Linked DNA regions of Homo sapiens: region 2 is linked to region 1. The links are contacts of gene promoters, found by promoter capture Hi-C in blood cells and fetal thymus (Javierre and others, 2016). All regions are on one chromosome and are shown on one strand. The core of a region is centred on a gene start or on the middle of the fragment in contact, and the rest is flanking DNA. Distances in the headings are between cores, read along the strand shown. Region 1 holds the start of NNAT (neuronatin). Region 2 overlaps MANBAL (mannosidase beta like).

Region 1 (3,296 bases), core at 305-2,804:
CAGCCCGTCCTCAAGGGGCCCAGACCTCACAATACCGCCCAGTGGTTGCCAAAGGACGACCAAGGGCTCCCTGCTGTGCCCCCACGTGGTAAGGACAGGGTTCTGTATCTAGCATCTCTCACAGCCATAGGTGCTCAGGCACTAAGTGCAGAGTTAAAGCTGTTAGCGGGGCACTGCCGGCCACCAGACCACAGGCAAAGGATCCTGAGGCAGCTACAGCCTCGAAATATTTTAAGATGGCAGCCTAGGCTAAGCTTGCCTTTTTCAAACAGCCCAGCGTCACTTTGCCAGAATCTGCCAACTTCTCCGAAAGTCAATGTAGAAAAAAAGTCACTATGCTACTTTGTCCAAACTGAACTCGTTTGGATCATTACACCTCCATCTGCTGCTGGCACTGTATAGAACCTGACCTCTGGGAGCTTTTAATGAAAATTAATTTTCTATCCACATAGGGGCAAATGCCAGTTGGTCCCTGGGCCAGGCAGCTTGCTGGAAAGAGGTGCTTTCGGCTGGCTACCGGTGCGCGGGGACCACACTCACAAACCGCATTCCGGTCTTCCCGCCCGAAAATCCGCGCTGTGCGAGGGACCCACAAGACTGGCGGTCTAAAAGGGACCCGCCTCACTTGGAAACGGGGCTGCGGTAGCCACAACCCTCCGGTAGCGGTAGCGTAACCCCGTTCGGTGATCCAGCCGCACAGCGCAACGGGTACAAAGAACCCCACTGGCTAAGGCCGACCTACCAGGGCTTGGGGGAGGGGAGCGGAAGACTGAGGTCGAAACGACCTGTCCAGCAGAAAACTATCCCCAAGCATATTCCAACCACTTCTCCGTAGAGCTCATTCCTTCCGTGCATACGAAGGGCGCCAATCCTTCCTGTATCCCTCCTACAGATACCGGGTGACTACTGCTTTTGCGCCCAAAGCGCAGTGCTCTGGCTCAGCTCCCTACAGTAGCGACCTCCACCGCAGATTCTCATCTCCTCGCTACCGTAAGAGAGATGTAAAGAATCAGACGGGTTACGCGCTCAGGCACCCTCATGAAGCAGAGGACCTGGGCTTAAAACTCATTCAGTATCAGGAAAAGAGCGCCGAGCACGGGCCTATTATGCCAAAGCTTCTGAAAGGGGCACCACGTTTTTTGCTCTATGGGGCAGATGACCCCTCCCTAATTTCGGTTTTCCATCCATCCCCAAGGTAGGCTTTGGAGTGGCACCGGAGACTGAGCTCAAATTTGCAGGCCAGGGACTGGGGAGAAGGGCGCCACACTAAGAGACCTGCACCCCCATTCTCGCCCTGTACTCTACCCAGAGTCGTGGTACCCCTCCATTTTAAAGCAAAATCCAAAAGCAAGCACGGCGGAATCTTCTGGAAGGGGGCTAAGATGGAACTCAGGAGGCGGGGGTCGGTATGGAAAGAGCAGATGGATTATTTTTTTCCTCTCCTGGCGAATGAGGAGCGCCCCCAGCCACCCCTCCTCATAAACACCCCCCAAGGCGCGCATGCGCACTTAGGTGGCGGGCGGGTACTTAAGGCGCGGCCACCGCGGCTGCGGCAGTGCGCCCAACAGCGGACTCCGAGACCAGCGGATCTCGGCAAACCCTCTTTCTCGACCACCCACCTACCATTCTTGGAACCATGGCGGCAGTGGCGGCGGCCTCGGCTGAACTGCTCATCATCGGCTGGTACATCTTCCGCGTGCTGCTGCAGGTAAGTCTGACGGGGTTTCGGGTGGGAGAGGGTTCCCAACTCGCGCCCCTAGAACCCGCAAGACTGCGTCGCGATTGCCGCTTCCCGGACCCGTCCTATTCCGATTGCCGCGATCCTTGCCTGCCCAAGTGCCGCTGCCGGCACCGCGCGCCCCCTGCCCATTCCCTGCGCCGTCCTCCTCGCGCTGACCCTCCCTAGTGCGCCCGCGCCTGCCAGGGAACAAAGACTCGGGGCGCGGCGGGCGACCGCTGCGGACGATCACCCAGGCATTTAGCGACCTACGCGGTAAGAAAAACCCGCTACACCCGGACTCGACCCCAGGAGGGAGGCGGGGCACTACTGTGTTGAAAGACTTTACAGCTCGCAGAGTGAAAATTTTCCACCTTAAAAAATTGCGCATTGCGGAGAAATTTTATTTAAAAAAACATATAGCGCTTGCGGGGGTGGAACAAAAAATAAGTTAGAAAAAGGCACTTCTCAGAAAAAATAAAAATTACTTCGCAAAAAAAAAAAACCCTACAACGAATTAGAGAAAAAGTAGTTCACAGGAAAACAGAAAAACGCGCATTGCAGGAAAAATAAATCGGAGAAAAGCACTTGGCAGAAAAAAATGCATTAGATTAAAAACGCACTGCAGAAAAAAATTAGACAAGGGAGCTAACGGAAAAAAATGGATCGGGCAAAAACGCTTTAAAGAAAAAAATTAGAGGAAAAAGCCCCTCGAGAGAAAAATAGAAGGGGAAAAAAAGCACTTCCAAAAAAGGACAATTGCTTTACAAAAAAAAAAATAATAATAAAAAAAATAAAAAAGAGGCAAAAGCGCTTGGTGTAAAAAGAGATAAATCAGAAGAAAGCGCTTTGCCCATAAAATCATTTACCCTAAAAGCTCCCTTTGCAGGAAGAATTCCCTGCTAAAGGAATCCTTTGCCAAAGGAATCGCATATTTCCTTCAAGGTGTTCCTGGAATGCTGCATTTACTGGGTAGGATTCGCTTTTCGAAATCCTCCAGGGACACAGCCCATTGCGAGAAGTGAGGTATACCTAAGTTGTGGGTCCAATCAGCTTGCCGCCATGCAGCTCTCAGCACAGTTGGAAAAGCTCCAGCTGCCCTGACTCGTGGACAAGCTGCGCCCGCGCCCGCCTCTCCAGCCTACGCTGGATGGGCGGGCGGGGCAGGGGGTGGGGCGGGGGTGGGCACGGCAGCACCACAGACATGCTGTGGGTGCTCTCCACTAAGGGTGGGTCCTGGGTTTCTCGTCGCAGGTGTTCAGGTACTCCCTGCAGAAGCTGGCATACACGGTGTCGCGGACCGGGCGGCAGGTGTTGGGGGAGCGCAGGCAGCGAGCCCCCAACTGAGGCCCCAGCTCCCAGCCCTGGGCGGCCGTATCATCAGGTGCTCCTGTGCATCTCGGCCAGCACGGGAGCCAGTGCCGCGCAGGAATGTGGGGTCCCCTGTGTTCCCTCGCCAGAGGAGCACTTGGCAAGGTCAGTGAGGGGCCAGTAGACCCCCGGAGAAGCAGTACCGACAATGACGAAGATACCAGATCCCTTCCCAACCCCTTTGCACCGGTCCCACTAAGGGGCAGGG
Region 2 (3,290 bases), core at 674-3,173, 220 kb before region 1:
TGCCATTGTACTCCAGCCTGGGTGACAGAGTGAGACCCTGTCTCTAAATAAATAAATAAATAAATGGGTAAAAAGAAACAGATTTTTAAAAAATTGTGACAAAATATATGTAACAAATTTACCATTTTAACCATTGTTAAGTTTACAATTCAGTGGTATTTGCAGTGTTGTATAACCGTCATCACTGTCTATTTCTAGAACTTTTTCATCTTTGCAAACTGAAACTCTGTACCCAGTAAACAATATCTCCCCATTTCCCTTCCCTCCAGCCCTTGGTAACCTCAATTCTACTTTCTGTCTCTGAATTTGCCTATTCCAGGTACCTCATATAAGGGGACTCATACAATATTTGTCCTTTTGTGTCTAGCTTATTTCATATATATTTATTCAAAGCTCATAATGTTTTCAAGGTTCATTCATGTTGTAGCATGTATCAGAATTTCATTTCCTTTATGGCTGAGTAATACTCCATTGTATGTATATACTACGTTTTGCTTATCCATTCATCTGTTTATGGACTCTTAGTTGTTTCCATCTTTTGGCTATTGTGAATAATGCTGCTATGAACATTAGTATCTTGAGTCCTTGCTTTCAATTCAATTTTTTTTTTTTTTTAAACAGGATCTCTCACCCCGTCACTCAGGGTGGCGCAATCACGACTCATTGGCTCACTGCAGCCTAGACCTCCCAGCTGGAGCAATTCTCCTGCCTCAGCCTTCTGAGTAGCTGGGACTACAGGTGTGTACCACCATGTCCGGCTAATTTTTAAATTTTTTATAGCAACAGGGTCCCACTCTGTTGCCCAGGCTGGTTTCAAACTCCTGGGTTCAAGTGATGCTTCTGCCTTGGCCTGTCAAAGTGTTGGGCTTACACTTTGGGCGTAACCCACCATGCCCAGCCAATTATTTTTTACGTGTATTTTTTGGTGGCAGGGTGGGGTGGGGGCAGGGTCGGGTGGGGGCAGGGTCTCGCTCTGTCACCCAGGCTGGAGTGCAGTGGCGTGATCGTGGCTCACTGCCTTAAGCTCCTGGGCTCAAGTGATCCTCCCACCTCAGCCTCTCGAGTAGCTGGGAATACAGGAGTGAGCCACCACTCCTGCCTAATTTATTATTTTTTTTGTAGAGATGGGGTCTCGCTGTGTTGTCCAGGCTGGTCTCAAACTCCTGAGCTCAAGTGATCTGCCCACCGTGGCCTCCCAAAGTGCTGAGATTATAGGCGTGAGCCACTGCAATCGTTTCAGCATGTAATCAATATGAAAACATTATGAATGAGATAGATTACATTCTTATTTTCATACTAGGTCTTTGAAAATGGGTGTGTAATTAGCATCTCAATTCAAACTAGCTGCGTTTCAAGTCTTAATAGTCATGTGTGGCTCATGGCCACCATATTGGATAGCTCAGACTTAGCAAAATATTGCATTGTGGCACAGATCTCTGGAAACACAAAGGGTTTTAGATTCAAGTGGGCCTGGTTCCAAAGTAAATTTGCCCCTTTATCATTGGGATGGGCAGAAGAAAGCCACTGATGGGTGCTGTGGTAAAGGGGGAGCAGTTCAGTCATGCCAGGGGAAGAGGAGGGTGACAGGAGAGGCATGTTGGGGAGATGACACTTGAGCTCAGCCTTAGAGGCAGAGTGGGGGCTTTGTCAAGCAGTCACAGTGGGAAAGGACATTCTTTGCAGAGTATGCAGCTTGGGCAGAGGCCCAGGATTTTGAAAGAGCCCAGTGCTCTTGGAGAACCACAGCAGTTCTTTCAGCTTGACTAGGATATTAGGAGTGGGGGCCCTGCTGAGAGGAGAGGCTGGAGAGCTGGGCTGAGGCTGGACCTTGCACCACTGGCCACCACTGCCCCTGTCATTCACGCCATCAGCAGCTCTTGTCTGGCTTATTGGCAGGGGCCTCCTCCTGGCTCTCCCTGTGTCCACTTTGCCTCTCCCCTTGTTGTCCCTCCTCCATTTAAAAATGGAAGTCAGATCATGTCACTTTTCTGCTCAAAACCCTTCAGTGGCTTTACATTTTACTCAATCAAATTGGAGGTATCAGGGTCCGCCCCCACTCCTCTCTGATCATACCTCCTTCCACCCTCCCTCCTGATCACTTCTCTGCCTGTACTGGCCTCATTTCCCCACCCTGGGGCCTCCACACTTGCTTTTTTCCCTGCCTGGAACGTGTTTCCCTCAGATACACAAATGGCTCCCTCTCTCACTTCTTATCTCTTCCACTCCATTCCCGTCTCTGTTCTTCAGAGAGAGCCTTCTCATCACAAAATAAAATGATGCCCTTAAGTTTTTTCCAAAATGCTTATCACTACCTGGCATATCACATCTCGACGTGTTCATTGTCTGCTTCCATCCTGAGCATGTAGAGGCTCCAAGAAAGCAGGGGTTTGTCTGTTTTGCTCATTCTTCAGTGCTTGGTATTCAAGAAATATTTGTTGAATGGATGACTACATGAATAAATAAACAACAAAACCTGAAACGTAGCAGCCTTTAGTAAATGTATGTTGATTTGAGATTTTTGTTGAAGTGCTTCCCTTTGCATTTATTTATTTTTCTCAACTTTATGTTTGGAAAACATCAGATACACAGAAAAGTTGAAAGAATGGTTCATTGACTGACCATATGTTCCCAACTTAGATTCAAGAGTTGTTAACATTTCACAATTCCTGTATATATTCTTGGGTGTGTGTGTGTGTGTTCAAGTTAAAAGTCAGTTACAGGCTGGGTGAGGTGGCTCACACCTGCAATCCCAGCACTTTGGGAGGCTGAGGCGGGCAGATCACCTGAGGTCAGGAGTTCAAGACCAGCGTGGCCAACGTGGTGAAACCCTGTCTCTACTAAAAATACAAAAATCATCCAGGTGTGTTGGCCCACACCTGTAATCCCAGCTACTCGGGAGGCCAAGGCAAGAGAATCACTTGAACCCAGGAGGCCGAAGTTGCAGTGATCATGCCATTGCACTCCAGCCTGGGCGACAGAGTGAGACTCCATCTCATAAATAAATAAATAAATAAATAAATAAATGTCAGTTACAGAAATATGACACTGACCCTTTGCATTTACAAGTTGGTTCTAAAGAGTGGTGAGTCAGAAGAGACGTCAGGCAGCAAGCGACTTGGGCCATGGCCTCTGACCTAGACTTCTCACCTCCGGAGGTGCCCGAGCCCACTTTCCTGGAGAACCTGCTACGGTACGGACTCTTCCTGGGAGCCATCTTCCAGCTCATCTGTGTGCTGGCCATCATCGTACCCATTCCCAAGTCCCACGAGGCGGTGAGTTTTTCCCTGGGA

The links. The method cuts DNA at HindIII sites, captures the fragments that hold promoters and counts their contacts. A CHiCAGO score of 5 or more calls a contact.
Region 2: a contact is called between a fragment that was not itself captured here and the fragment with the promoter of NNAT in region 1, in 1 of 17 cell types (naive CD8 T cells). The highest score is 6.4, in naive CD8 T cells.

What each region holds. Positions count from the first base shown.
Region 1 is chr20:37,519,696-37,522,991 of GRCh38, forward strand. It overlaps NNAT (neuronatin), which reads left to right and starts at 1,555. Exons shown (of 3, transcript NM_005386.4): 1 at 1,555-1,708; 2 at 2,663-2,743; 3 at 2,972-3,296. The coding sequence starts at 1,637. The coding sequence ends at 3,064. All of the region lies in intron 1 of BLCAP (BLCAP apoptosis inducing factor), which reads right to left. RefSeq lists an enhancer at 1-627. The HindIII fragment of the contact is 15,256 bases long and covers 1,114-3,296 here.
Region 2 is chr20:37,298,142-37,301,431 of GRCh38, forward strand. MANBAL (mannosidase beta like) reads left to right here. Exons shown (of 3, transcript NM_001003897.2): 2 at 3,067-3,272. The coding sequence starts at 3,123. Among named protein-coding and RNA genes, the nearest start is that of MANBAL, 10 kb to the left of the region's middle. The HindIII fragment of the contact is 5,291 bases long and covers 1-3,290 here.